Linked DNA regions of Homo sapiens: region 1 is linked to region 2. Evidence: promoter capture Hi-C in human tissues and cell types (Jung and others, 2019). All regions are on one chromosome and are shown on one strand. The core of a region is centred on a gene start or on the middle of the fragment in contact, and the rest is flanking DNA. Distances in the headings are between cores, read along the strand shown. Region 1 overlaps CSMD2 (CUB and Sushi multiple domains 2). Region 2 holds the start of CSMD2 (CUB and Sushi multiple domains 2).

Evidence for each region. Contacts are between HindIII fragments. The study calls those that stand out against the background at their distance.
Region 1: a fragment that was not itself captured here is called in contact with the fragment with the promoter of CSMD2 in region 2 in 1 of the 25 tissues and cell types used here (dorsolateral prefrontal cortex).

Annotation. Positions count from the first base shown.
Region 1 is chr1:33,619,982-33,626,595 of GRCh38, forward strand. It overlaps CSMD2 (CUB and Sushi multiple domains 2), which reads right to left. Exons shown (of 71, transcript NM_001281956.2): 33 at 6,505-6,600; 34 at 5,070-5,273; 35 at 4,538-4,662; 36 at 3,389-3,485; 37 at 2,186-2,290. Among named protein-coding and RNA genes, the nearest start is that of ZSCAN20, 150 kb to the left of the region's middle. The HindIII fragment of the contact is 6,752 bases long and covers 1,457-6,614 here.
Region 2 is chr1:34,160,692-34,167,363 of GRCh38, forward strand. It overlaps CSMD2 (CUB and Sushi multiple domains 2), which reads right to left and starts at 4,539. Exons shown (of 71, transcript NM_001281956.2): 1 at 4,220-4,539. The coding sequence starts at 4,406. It also overlaps a transcript of C1orf94 not described here. RefSeq lists enhancers at 2,440-2,569, 2,990-3,049. The HindIII fragment of the contact is 8,389 bases long and covers 1,442-6,672 here.

The sequences.
Region 1 (6,614 bases), core at 3,583-6,082, 540 kb before region 2:
GATGGAGAGAAGAGCAGAATGAGGACAAAAAAGCGTGGTAGGAAGAAAAATGGAATGGGAGAAAGATGAGGCTGAAGAGAAAAATGGAGGGGGATATAGAAAAGTCCATTCTAACTTATCTTATGCTACACAGATTGATTTTATTTAAGCCATGCTTACAACAAAGGAAAAATTATTTTTTATCATATGTAATTTATTACTTTTGAAAGCATATTGCTCCATTTCCATTTAAATTAAATAAACAATTATGAATCATAGCAGTGGATGTGACTTTTCAGTACCCTTCAAAACCATTTGCCTGTACAATAGCAGTTAATTCTCTATTGTCTGTGAGCTCTTTGTAGATTATCCTACAAAATAAAATATAACTACAGGGCCCTGGCTCCTAGGAATTCCAGTCTCCAAATACCAGTGGGAAGCTCTGTTTCTCCGTAGCTCTTCCCATCATGAGGGGACAACACATGAAATGTCAGCTACTGGGAAAACTGCCAGTCCCCTTGGACGAAGAAAATTGAGAAGAGGTGGATTTTTTTCCTGGGAATGAGGCAGTAGAATGGCAAAGTGATTTACAAAGAAAATGTATCTTTGGAAGAAGAAAGAACAGAGAAGATTCTAGGGAACATTTAAGAGCTCAAAATATTGGATAGAGAAAACTGGAGAGAACAGAGAAGAAGGGATGAAAGGAAAAAAATGTGATTTAGTCGAGAAACCCAGGATATTTCACTCCACCAGGGGAGTGAAGCCTTACATATCTGCTGGAAGGAGTCTCAGAGGTCCCTGTCCTACCCTTTACCCTGCAGGGTCTGCTTCTAGCTGTCCTGGGTCTTTTTTTTTTTTTTTTTTTTTTTTCCAGGTGCATGCTTCAGTTCTTTCAGGTGATGAGCATCCTGGGACCTGTTTAATTCTTTCTGAAGCAGCTGGATGAAGTTCATTTGTTTCACAGACCCAGATGGGCATGTGCATAACACAGTTCTGACCCAATCAGACATCTAGCACCCAGTGGGCCTTCTTTCTGCACAGGCCCATGCTGTCGCAGATGGTCTAGCCAACCATGCCTTCCTGCATTTTTCACTTCTCATTGCAAACTTAACTCAGGCATCCCCTTCTGCAAGGCCTTACATGGCTAGCTTTAGCTCCTTTCCTTTGTACTTTCTTAGCATCTCTCCTTTCCTCTGCACTTTCTTAGGTTTCACTAAAATGACTGTGCCCATGTCCATCTCTCCTTCTAGATTTTGTGCTTTTGAAGGCAGGGGCCTTGTCTTATTGACCTTTGTACTGCGGGGACCTAACACAGGGCGGGGCACATTGCAGGTGCTCAATGTTTCTTCACAACATTTGCATCTCCACCCGCCCACAACCATTCTCTCCCTTGAACCATTTCTCTACCATCTAGAGCCATCCATGAGAGCACCTGTAATGCTGTCATGCACCTCTCTGTCTATGTGTCTACCTCTCTTTAGTGGACTTTGACTGACCCATCTTAATCTTTCCCAATCGTGGCAAAACCCAGCACAGTGCCTGGCATGTTGTAAATGCTCAATAAATATTTGCCGAATAAAAGTGTAAAAAATGCTGCTGCCTACCTATTCTTTCCTGTACCCAGTGGAGAAAGGGGGTAGGGCAGGCAGTCCCAGTATGCAAGCAGTTTCCCTAGAAACCTCTTTCTTTGTTCCCCAGAAGGCACATCCACAAATCTTTCTCTGTGAAGAGTATTTGGTAGTGACCACTTAGGGATGCCAGAAGCCAGGATATAAGGGTTTGAGCCTGCAGTGAGAAATCTGGTAGAAGATGAGTGAGGTAGCCAATGAAAGGAGGAACTTCAAAAATAATCGCATCATAGAACTAGGGGTTAGAAAGGCCAGGTTTTAGACCTGGGGGAGGAAAGCACAATTTTCTTACATCCCAATTATATACTGGGACCTTGGCCAATGCAAGTCCCCTTCCCATTCCTGGTGTGGATACTGAACAGGCATACAGGTTTTCGAGTAACAGACACTTGGACGAGAACACAGCCTTGAGGAGGTTTCAGACCTTCTCTGGGCTTTAGCATCTTCACCTAGGTTTGTGGGAAGGCTTAAGTGGGATGGACAATATGCAGCTCCAGTTTAATCCTTGCTCAGAAGGGGCTCAGCAACTTTTAGGTCCCACCCTGAACCCTGTACCAGCCAAGACCCTGGATTCTCACTTTTGTACTCCAAGTGGAAGCCAGCTGCAGATACGCTGATATCTGAGTAGAAATGAAGGTAGAGCTGGTTGGAGGTGCTGTTCAGAAGGGCAGGCACGGTTGTTCCTAGGGCAAGGACACCAGGGAAAACCATTTAAGTTTGGCTCCTCCAGGCCCTTGCATTCCTCCCCATTCCTCTGGATTTTGCTACCTGCTGACATTCTGCTCCCAAGGCCCCCAGATGTCCCCAGTTATGAAACTCACTAAATGACAAATTAGCACTCCTCAGAGGGCTAGGTCTCTACTGGCTGAGGGAGGGGAAACTCCAATCTGCTTCCTGTAAGATGAGCAGTGGCAGAGCCATGTGCCCGCAGGAGGGTGAGGGATGAGTTGGGTCTCCTCATAGCCATCTTCAGGATAACTCTGACCTGTATTATTCTCTGGGCAGTCCTGCAGTGTGGACAGTTTATCTGAAGCATGTGACTCCTCTTTATCTCTTGGCCACCTAGAGTTCTGGGCCTAAAAGATTCAGATAATTGCCCTGGCCACTGGGCACACCTATACACCACACTCAGTCAGAAGTCCATTACTAGAATGGCAAAATGGTGTTGCCACTTTGGAAAACAGGAAGTTCCTCCAAAAGTTAAACATAGAGTTCCCACATGACCCAGCAATTCCACTCCTAGGTATATACTCAAGAGAAGTGACAATGTGTGTTCACACCAAGACTTGTGCATGAGCATTATTCATAACAGCACAAAAGTGGAAACAAGCCATTGACTGATGAATGGACACACAAAATATGCTCTGTCCTTACAATGAAGTGCTGAACCATACTGTGACTGGGGGAACTTTGAAAACATCACGTTAAGTGAAAGAAGCCAAACACAGAAGGCTTCCATTTATATGAAATGCCTGGAATAGGCAAATCCAGAGAGATAGAAAGTAGATTACTGGTTACTAGAGGCTAGGTGTGGGCTGGGGAGGGGAGTGCAAATGGGTACCTGGTTTATTTTGGGGTGGTCAAAATGTTCTGGGATTAGATAGTAGTGATGGTTGCAGGACCTTTCGAATCTCCTGAAAACCACTGATGTGTCCACTTGAAAATGGTGAATTTCATGGAATATAAGTGATATCTCAATAATAATAATGATAATAACAATGTTCATGATGATGAGCTCTAGTACTACCCTCCAAATTGAAGCCCCTGGAAACCCAGCTTACCTGAGAAACTCCCCAGCATGGTTACAGTGTTATCTGCACCATCAAATACTTCCAGCGAGTCCCAGTTCTGCTCTGTCACAAAACTGACAACTTGGATCTGGGAAGGGAGAAGAGTGAATTGTTGGTTAGGCAGCCTGCGTCCCTCCCTCCTTCTCTGCTTTCCCTTTCTGCCCTTCCCGTAGTTAATTCAATTTGTTGAGAATCTACTCTGGGCCTAACACTGTGCTAGTCCCTTTCAATAAAAGTAAGATGCAGAACCGACTCCAAGGAGCTCGTTGTCCAGTGGGGAAGACAGATGTGGAAAAAAATGATTAGAAGACAGTGGATATTTTGCAAGGCAGAGAATGGGGAAAAGAAGTTCCAGGAAGTGGAAAGACAGTCTCACTGACTGTCTCCTCATCTCTGGAATGTTCCTTGGGTTTCCCCACTTTCCTGCCTTGATTTCATCAGACGTCCTGCAGCAATGAGCCCGTAACCCACTCCTGCCCAGATCTGTCTGCTGGACTCCCAGTTTGCTGCCTCTCTGTTGGCCTTGCAGGCTCCTGACCCTCTTCCCTGCCTTGACGCCAATGCTGGGGCCTCCCTCTGCCTGGCTCTTACCCCTGGGTACCAGTTATGCCCCCAGTTCAGCTTCTACAGCTCATGCTGTGCGTGGTTCCCTAGGTGTGTGCCTGGGGGTTCTCTGTGCTTCAGCTGTGCTGGGTGCTTTGCTCTTTCTTCTCATTAGCACTGCCTCCCCTTCTAACCCTCACAATCTTAAGAAAATCTTTAGCCATTTGAGGAACAACTTCTATGAATCCTTCCCACACTTCAGATTCCAGCTCCAGGCCCATTTCTTCTTTTAGCCTCCCCTCCTGGCCATGGCCAATCAATGCCCACCTCTCCTCCTTCCTGGGTTACCCGACTCCCACCGCATGTCCCTGAAGCTCTTGGGGCCTGGAACCTGCTGTGTTTTCTGCATGGGAGCCACATCTCCACACTTGGACTGAGCCTCCTTAGCCGCAGGGGCAGGTACAGGGCTGATATGTCTCTTCCTGGCTCACCCTGACTCAGGCCTTGGCACCAGCCAGCACCTGTGGTTGTCACCTGTGAGCTGTTACCTGGGAGCAGACGGCCACCTGCCCGACCGAGGCGCCCCCTTGCCCCTACCTGGATGCCAGCGCCTTCGGGGACCACGATCTTCCACACACAGTTGAGGCTGTTGAGGTACGGCTCTGGGAAGCCAGGGGACAGGATGGTGCCCCTGCGCTCTGTGAGGTTGCCTCCACACGGCACTGGGAGGAGAGGCCATCGGGTCAGAGGCTTTGTGGCCTCCCGTGGGAGCCTTCCCAAGCTGACTCCTCCCTCATGGCCCCCAGCCTCTGTTTGTCCTCCTCCCCATGGGGGTGTCTCCCTAATGTCCCCAGTCCTGCCTTCTCCACGGCCTCTCCCCATGCAACTCTGTTCGGGGCCCTGGGCCCAGCTCCTCTCTCCACGTGTGCCCCGTCCCCAGTACACCGGCTGTCTTCACACAGCCCACAGCGCCGGGGACTGGGGTTGACTGGGACACCCCACCTCAGCCATGCGGTGGGAAGCGGCTGCTGTGTGTCGTGGGGCATCACTGGGGCTGACTGCCTCCCCTACAGAGAAAGGACTACGTGCCGCCCCCCGCACCCTCAACGCCCGGGTCCTGGTTACTCACCCACACACGTGGGCGCTGAGACATTCCATTGGGCCAAGGCCCCAGGCACAGGGAGGCACTCGATCTCTGGCGACCCCTGCAGGGCATAGCCGGAGTTGCATTCGAAGCGGACGATGGCCCCCACCGAGAAGTCACTGCCCAGCCTCTTGCCATAGCGGGGTTCCGGCACAGAGCTGCACTGCGTGGCGCTGGTTCGAGGAACCGCTGTGGGGGACAAGGGCACTGAGGGGAGGCCTCACCCCTCAGAAACTGGCCCAGGGACGGACATACAACGGGTCTGGAACAAAGACCGTCTGGATGAAACCCTGGGAGGCTCTGGATGCTCTCCCGTAGGGAAGGGCTCGAGGGCTAACTAGGAGGATGCCTGTTATACCGAATTATAGTTGGACACACAGCGCTACAGCACAGCTCCTGGAAAGCACGGGAGGTAGAGCCGTGGACCTCCCACAGACCTTAGGCCCAGTTTTGTTCTTTGCTTTCCCAACGACGCCCCTCACTCATCAGGGTCCCACGTTCCCTAGCAAGGAGAATGGGCCTTCCTCCTCTACCTTCAGGGCCTTTGCCCTGCCTCTGTCCTGTTTTCCCCATGTGCCTTAAGATCCTGCCTGGGGCCCTGCCCTCCATGACCCCCAGTCTCCCCTCCCTCCTGCCGCCCAGAATGGCTGATGGGCCCGGGATGGCCTCCCCTGTGATAGGATCACTCCTGCAAAGAGAAACACAGCTCATCCTGGGCAGAGTCGAATGAACAGGACCATGCTTAGAACCTGGGCCCTACAAAAGTGGATGTTCTCCTGGGCAAGCAGAGGTTGGGACCTGGGGGTGAAAACCAGGATGCTCCAAACTACCTTTCTGGGCCAATAAGGAAGGGAACTAACACCAACTGGCTGGTTGGTACCAGCTACTTCCCGAAGCCTCTTTGCATCCTATCAGTGAGGCATTGTGATTGCCCGCTCCTTACAGGTGAGCAAACAGGCTCTGAGGCCTGGCGTAGCTGGAGCCTAGCTCGAAGGTGGGGAGGTGGGATTCAAATCGATGTCCACGGCACTTCAAAGCCTGTGTTTTCCCCGCACCTTTACTGTGCCTGGCAGACAAAACCAAGCTCCAGGGGAGTCCAGGTAAGATGCCTGGGCTGGTCTCTTCAGTGCCATCTGGACCATGCCAGACAATGGGTGGAGTGGGGAAGGGGAAAAAACTGGCTGCCTTTGTCTGATTTCCTTCCTCATTAAACACAGAACTTGTCTAAGAAATGTCTGCTGAGTAAGTGAATGCATAAAATTAACTGGATTTCAGGGAATTGCCCTACAAACTAGTAACTGCCCCCAAACACCCTGAGAAAGGGACTCAGACTAGAGGTCAAAGATCCCTGTCCCTTCGATCACGAGTCCCTTAAGAACCGAGATCACCTTCCTACCTCCGGCGTCCATGTCCTCCATACCTTGGTAGACAAAGTGGAAGCCTCTGGCTGGTGCGAGGCCTTTGGCGCTGAACTTAATGAGAACTTGATTGGAGGTGGCCAAGGGCAGTGATTCTCCTGCCGAGATAAGG
Region 2 (6,672 bases), core at 3,289-5,788:
CCTTCAGTAAGCTCACATTTTAATATATAAGGCAGACAAATAAATGCTTTTTAATACAATTCAGTTTGTACTACAGTAGAACATTGAGTACAGTCAGTGCTCTAGTCTACAAGAGGCTGACTAAAAGCAAGCACTCAGACAACATACAAAGCAGGGGAAATTTTTTTAATTTGGCATTTGATTTTTTTAAAGCCATGATGTAATTGGCACGGGAAAAATCAGAACTTTGTCAGAATTCCATCTACTTAAACTATCTACTTATAGTTTAATATTGCTTTTTAAAAATTAGTTAGTAAGGGAGTGGAAGGCATGATAGCTTTTTCAATGCTCAGAGCTCCTCAAGGAAAGTAGCTAGGTTCGAGAATAATTGAGGATATGAAACTGACAGAATTTGATGACCATATGATAAGGAAGGAGTTGAGGATAATCCAAAGGTTTCTGGGCTCCATAACTGGGAGGCTACAGGAACCACCAGCTCACAAAGGAAATACGGGAGGCTTAAGAAAGAAGCTAATAAGATTGCTCTGGAAGGGAAATATCTAAGTGAAGATGTCCAAGGATCAGCTGGATACATGGGTTACCTAGACCCAGAATTCCCATGGACCAGGAAGCCAATAGATGAATTTCAGGAGAGATGTCTTGGCAGAAGAGATCTGTCTGGAAGCTTCAGAGTGTGGTAGTGAAAGGGTTGGGCAAGGATGAGCTCACCCAGAGAGTGGTGAAAAGGAATGGGAAAAAGTACAAAGAATTAAATGCTGCAGGACACTATACTTCAGGGAGGGGAATAAGTGTTAGTATTAGAGACTGAGAAGGAACACGCAAGAGATAGGAGAAAAATCAGTAAAACATAGTGTCCCAGAAGCCCAAGGAAGAGAAATTCATCCAAAGTGGCCACAGCCACAGAGAGATAAAAGAAAATAAAGATAAAGTACAATGTATTTGGCAATTGAGGTGGTCATTGGTGCTCTCTTCTAGAGTGTTCCAGTGTCATCCTGGAGACAGAGGTTGAAGTAAGGAGTGACGGGTAGTAGAGAAAACTGACATGAAGACCCCTTTGAAGAGAAGTGACTAAAAGACAAAAAGAGATGGGGCAGTGGCTTAGATAGGTCAATAGGGCCAAGAAGGCTTCTTGGCTTGTTTTGTGGTAAAGATGAGCCTGTTCACAGGTCAAAGGGAAATGTGTTTTAAGAAGGGAGGGTGGCCAGGTGCGGTGGATCACGCCTGTAATCCCAGCACTTTGGGAGGGCAAGGTGGGCAGATCATGAGGTCAGGAGTTCGAGACCAGCCTGACCAACATGGAGAAACCCCCCTTCTCTATTAAAAATACAAAATTAGCTGGGCATGGTGGCATGCGCCTGTAATCACAGCTACTCAGGAGGCTGAGGCAGGAGAATCACTTGAACCCGGGAGGCAGAGGTTGCAGCAAGCCGAGATTGCGCCATTGCACTCCAGCCTGGACAACAAAAGAGTGAAACTCCCTCTCAAAAAAAAAAAAAAAAAAAAGGGAGGATGATTGATAGGGACAGCAGGTAATTGGTGGGAAGTCTCCAGGGAGGCTGGGGTGGGGAGGGGGAGGGGGAGTGCAAGGCAGGACAAGGACTAAAGGGGTTGAGGGGAGAAGGTATGGGTGGGTGAGGAGACTCCCCTTTTTCAAACTATTTTATTCATTTATCCAGTGATCACTGAGCCGAGGAAGGGAGACGGTTCAGTCCTGAGCATCTTTTAAATTCAACAGTGTGAACTGAACACAAAATGAATGTGTTTCCCCTTCTAATGTACCAAATCCTGCCGATCTTCTGTCACCAAGTCCATTTCCAAATCTCTGCTGCCTGCAAGGCCAAACAGCCCATCTAAAGGCGGGAAAGGCTTAAAAAGAAATGTACTGGGCTGGGCGCGGTGGCTCACATCTGTAAGCCCAGCACTTTGGGAGGCAGAGGCAGGCGGATCACCTGAAGTCAGGAGCTCGAGACCAGCCTGGCCAACATGGTGAAACCCCATCTCTCCTAAAAATACAAAAATTAACCGGGCGTGGTGACGGTCGCCTGTAATCCCAGCTACTCGGAAGACTGAGGCAGGAGAATCGCTTGAACCCAGGAGGCGGAGGTTGCAGTGAGCTGAGACCGCGCCATTGCACTCCAGCCTGGGCGAGAAGAGCAAAACTCCGTCTTAAAAAAAATTTAAAAAGAAAGAGAAGAAAAGAAAAGAAATGTACTGGAAGCTTGCAAGCCAGAGCAGGGCCTGCCGGAGAGGAACTACCCCAAGCCATGAACACAAGGCCCCCTCCCCGCAACTTCTCTACTGAGCAAGGAGCTGCGAGCAAATGGATCTCTATAGGGCAGGATTCCAGCACCGCTGAGCGGTGCAAGCGCCGGTGAGTCGGCCTTTTTCTCTCCCCTAGGGGCAGGATATGCCCAAGGGGCAGGGACAAATCTAGCCAGAAAAACAATTCAGTCCGATGCCGAGACATTCTCCAATCAGCTAAGCCAGAGACCGGCCTCGCCTCAACGTACGTCCGGGAGGCCTGGCGGGAGGTAGCAGCGATTCCCCCACCGCCCATGTGGCAAGTCTGGGTGACCAGCAGCGTCGGTATGCACAGCCTCCCAGTGGGTGTGGGTGTGCGAGAGGCCAGAGCTCCCAGGCGCGCGCACCGCGGGCGCCCCTCTCTGGGTGTCGGTGGCTATGACTCTTAGCAGAACCTAAGAAAGTCCCGTCAGCTAGGAATGAGAGAGCCAGAGCTGGCTCGGGGCGCCCTCCCTGACCAAGAACCCCAACATGCCGCGGTTAAGCGGTGGGCGACACGGTCTGCGAGGACAGACTCACAAGACGCTGAAGGCCAGAGTGGGCCAGAGAGCTCGCCACTCACTGACCTGCCAGAGGAGAGGCGCACTTTCCCAAGAAGGGGAACTGGGGTGGTCCAGGCCAAGCCTTCAGAGGTTCAATCGGTGGTTTCAAAACAAAACAAAACAAAACAAAAACAAAAACAAAAAAGAAAACACGGCTCCAGGTCGAAGGTGCCCTAGGTCTAGGCCTGGCCAGCAGGTGTTTCGGTTTCTCCCCCAGTGGGTGTCAGCCTCGCGGGCTAAATGAAAATGCGGTTCCAGGCATCCCGGTTTGGACCCGTCTCCACCCGGGCACACGGAACTTTCTAGCTTGTAGCTAGAACTGAGCTTCGGAGGGGTGCTGTGGGTAAAGCGGGAGGGCACCAGTCGCGGCCAGTAGCCTCCACAGGGGACCGGGTTCCCTCGAAGGTTCGCGTACCTCCCCCGCGCGCTGCAAGCTGCAGCCAGACACCCGCGAAGTTCCGGGACTCTCCGCACCCGCTAGATCTGCCCCTTCCCGGACTCGGTCGTCGGGAGCTGGTCCCGCCGCCCGCGCCGCCGCTGCCGCTGCCGCAGCCGAGGCGCTCGGCTGCAGCAGGGCGCGGGAAAGGGCACTTTGGCGCGGAGTGAGCACCGAGGGGAATGTGGCAGCGCGAAGCCTGGCGGCGGCACTCCCTCCCCCGCCTCGGGCTACAACCCCCACCCCCTCCTTCCCATCCCTCAACACCCTCCAGCCCCCACCTGCACCCTCCTGCAAGGAATGCGCGGGACCCCCACCGTGGGCACGCGTCCACCTGAACCCCCTCCTAGCTCCGAGCGCCGAGGGAGGGGTAGCATTTGAGGAGGGGGATGGCGGCCGCAGTCTGCAGTCGGTTCCAGAGGGGGCACCGGTTTCAATTGGAGAAAATGGGCGGGGGCAGGGAAGGGCAGACCTTGCAGACGCAGAAATGGGGAGGGGGCGCACGGTTCCTCTCCAGCCCCCAGGACCAGCGTGCCTGGCAGAATCAGGAGCCGGGGGAGTAGGGCTCCCGGAAAGTTTATCGGGAAAAAGCCTAGCACCGTGGGGGCTGGGAGGCTGGAGAAACTGAAGCCACAGACCAGGTGCCCCGCAACCCCGGGCGGGGATGTCTGTCTCCCAGGCCCCCACACCGGCCGCATCCGTCCAAGTTGCGGCTGGGGTTGGGGCAGCAGTGAGGGTGAGGGTGGAGGTGAGGACGTGGCTGAGGGTGGGGTGGGAGACGGAGGCAGGGATGAGAATGAGAGTAGGCAACTGGGAGGGTGGGAGATTCAGGCAGGGATAGAGGCGGGGGGAGGGACTGGGACCGGGTCGAGGATGGGTGGGCTCGGGGCTCGGGTGGGGCGCGCGGCGGCCGCTGGCTCCTCGGCGCGGCTGGACTCACCCGCGGCGGCCGAGACGCTGAGCAACCCACAGCCCAGCAACAGCAGCAGAGGCGGCGGCGTTGGCGGCGGCGGGCGGCCCCAGCGGCTCCCGGCGCCCGGCACAAGCGCCGAAATCCCGGTTTCGCCGCGAGCCCTCCCCGCGGGGCAGCCGCAGCGCCCCAGCTCCCGTCCCCGCGAGCGCGGCATGGCGCGGCCGGCAGCGCCGAGGGAGAGGCTCCGCTCGCCGCCGAGGAGAAAGGAGGTCAGGAGAGCTCTGGAGCTTTTTTCTGCTCGGAAAAAATCCCGGTACGCGGGAGCCCTGAGCTTCTGCGGCTGGAATGAACCAAGTGTCCGCCCGGCCGGGGAGAGGCGCGCTGCGCTCTCGGAAATGACTCGCTCCAATCCCGCTTCGCGGGGTTCGCGCCGGGGGGCGGGAGGGGGTGAATTATCCCCGGATTAATCACTCCGGAGCCGCTTCTCCGCCGCTCCAAATGCTGGGGGTGGAGGCGCAGCTAAGGATAAAATATTGGGGGGCGGGGGTTCCTCTTCAGCGCCACCTCCACCTCCAGATAAACCACAAATTACATCTAAAGGGTTGTTTATCCGTGTCTGTTTTGCAATTGACCAGTTTCTTTTAAGTTCAGTCCTCCTGTTTTCATTTATAACATCACCCATTAATACACCCCCCTCTCCACACACACACACACAAACACACACACACACACACAGTGACAGAGACACACGCACTCACACACACAGGCACATACACGCACACCTCTTCCACGTTTGGAAATTGGAATCCTGTCTGGGAAAAGGTAACCAAAGAAGGACGCGTTCCCCAAGTCTTGGCTCTTACCAGCTGATCTTGGGTGGTGGCTTTGAACTTGCCATCTAGGGCCGGGGGCGATGCTTATGAGCCTCATTCACAATAGCCTCCTACCCCATCCCAGGAGAGGGGCGTGTGTGCGTAGACAGAGGCAGGGTTAAGAATTGGAGGGCGGTGGAGGGGGGTTGTGTGTGGGGTGGGGAGGGGGGGGAACCGGTTCATTTGACCCAGTGCGGTCCCACTCCTACCCTAAGACAAAAATCTCAGGGTGGCAGAGGCGGTCCCTGTGTGCACGCGAGTTGGGGGTGGGGAGTGAGGTTGGTGGAAGGACGGTGCAAGAGTTACTAGTACAATTTATCCCCAAATTTAAATAATCGGATCCTACTTCTTCTTCTCCCCTTCCTCCTCCCAGCCAAGGCCCCAAACCAAGAGAGTTCTTCCCAAGGACGTGAGCTGCTCCCCACCTCTCCCCAGTAGCGGCTGCCTCTAGGCCCCAAGGGCTTAGTGTCGGTCCCCACCCCATCCCCCACCCGACTCGGTCGCCGTCTCTGTCTCGTCTACTCCAGGCTTCTCCGCCAGTCACGATGGCTCCTTCGCTGTCTACGCCAAACTCTCGGCGAGAGGGAAGAGACGCTTCATGGGGGGAGGCTGGAGGAAACTGGGAGGGGCAAGGTCCAGAGAGGAGGCTTCTGCTGGCGCGTGCAGTGGAAAGGCACCTGCGATGGGCACCCCCGCCCCCTTTGCCGACACACCCCAGAGAAGCTGTGCTCCGGGCTTAGGGCAGCCTGATTTGGCCAAAACGGAGCGTTGGCATCTGTGTGGCCAAGGGGGCAGTGGCCGGCGGGCGGTGGGGCCTGAGAATTTCCGGGGAAGGGTGTGGAGAGGGACTGTAGGGATGGCGAGCCAGGCTGGGGGTGGCTGGCGACCCAGGTTGGCCGGCTGTCAGCGTGGCCAGGAATTTCCATCCAAGGAAGGGTGTGAAGAGGGGCTGTGGAGTTGACGATATGAATTGGGGGGCGGGGGCAGGGCTGGAGGAGTGGAGGCTTGTCCCTACTCCCCATGAAAAACTTCCTCCCCAGAGCCACGCTTTCGCAGCCTCCTAGATGCCACTCTTCCTCCCTCCCCCCACCCCAAGTTGTTCCGGTTTCCCTGCATGAGCTCATCCCACAGCTGGGGAGCCAGCCCGGTGGCCCTGGGCGGGCGAATCTCCTCAGAATCGCGGGCCTGGTCCCCACCCCCAACACGCTTGTATGCCCGCCCCTCCCGACGCCGCCTTGCTGGGTGCCAAGAACCAACCGAAGCAGCCAGAACTCCTCAGTGAAAGGCCTGCTTTATGTTCCCGGGGCAGTGAGGAGGGGGCTTCTCCCTTCCCATTGTCCAGACTCAGCCCCCGAAAGAGAGGGCTCAGCCTTCCCACCAGCCCTGGAGAGGAGGAAGGGACTGACTACGCCAGCAGTGAGTGGTGGTGGTGGCCTTGGGGGCTGTTAGCTGGGCTTGCCTGGGGGTGGGCTCCTGGCTTCTAAGCTCCGACTTTACCCCTCTCTTGGAGGCGGGGTTCTCCTCCAGAGAAAGGAACTGGCAGAGATGCCCAGGCCTCCTGTGCAGCCCACAGCTGGGCAGAAGAGAGTCTGGGCTGCTCTGTAATTC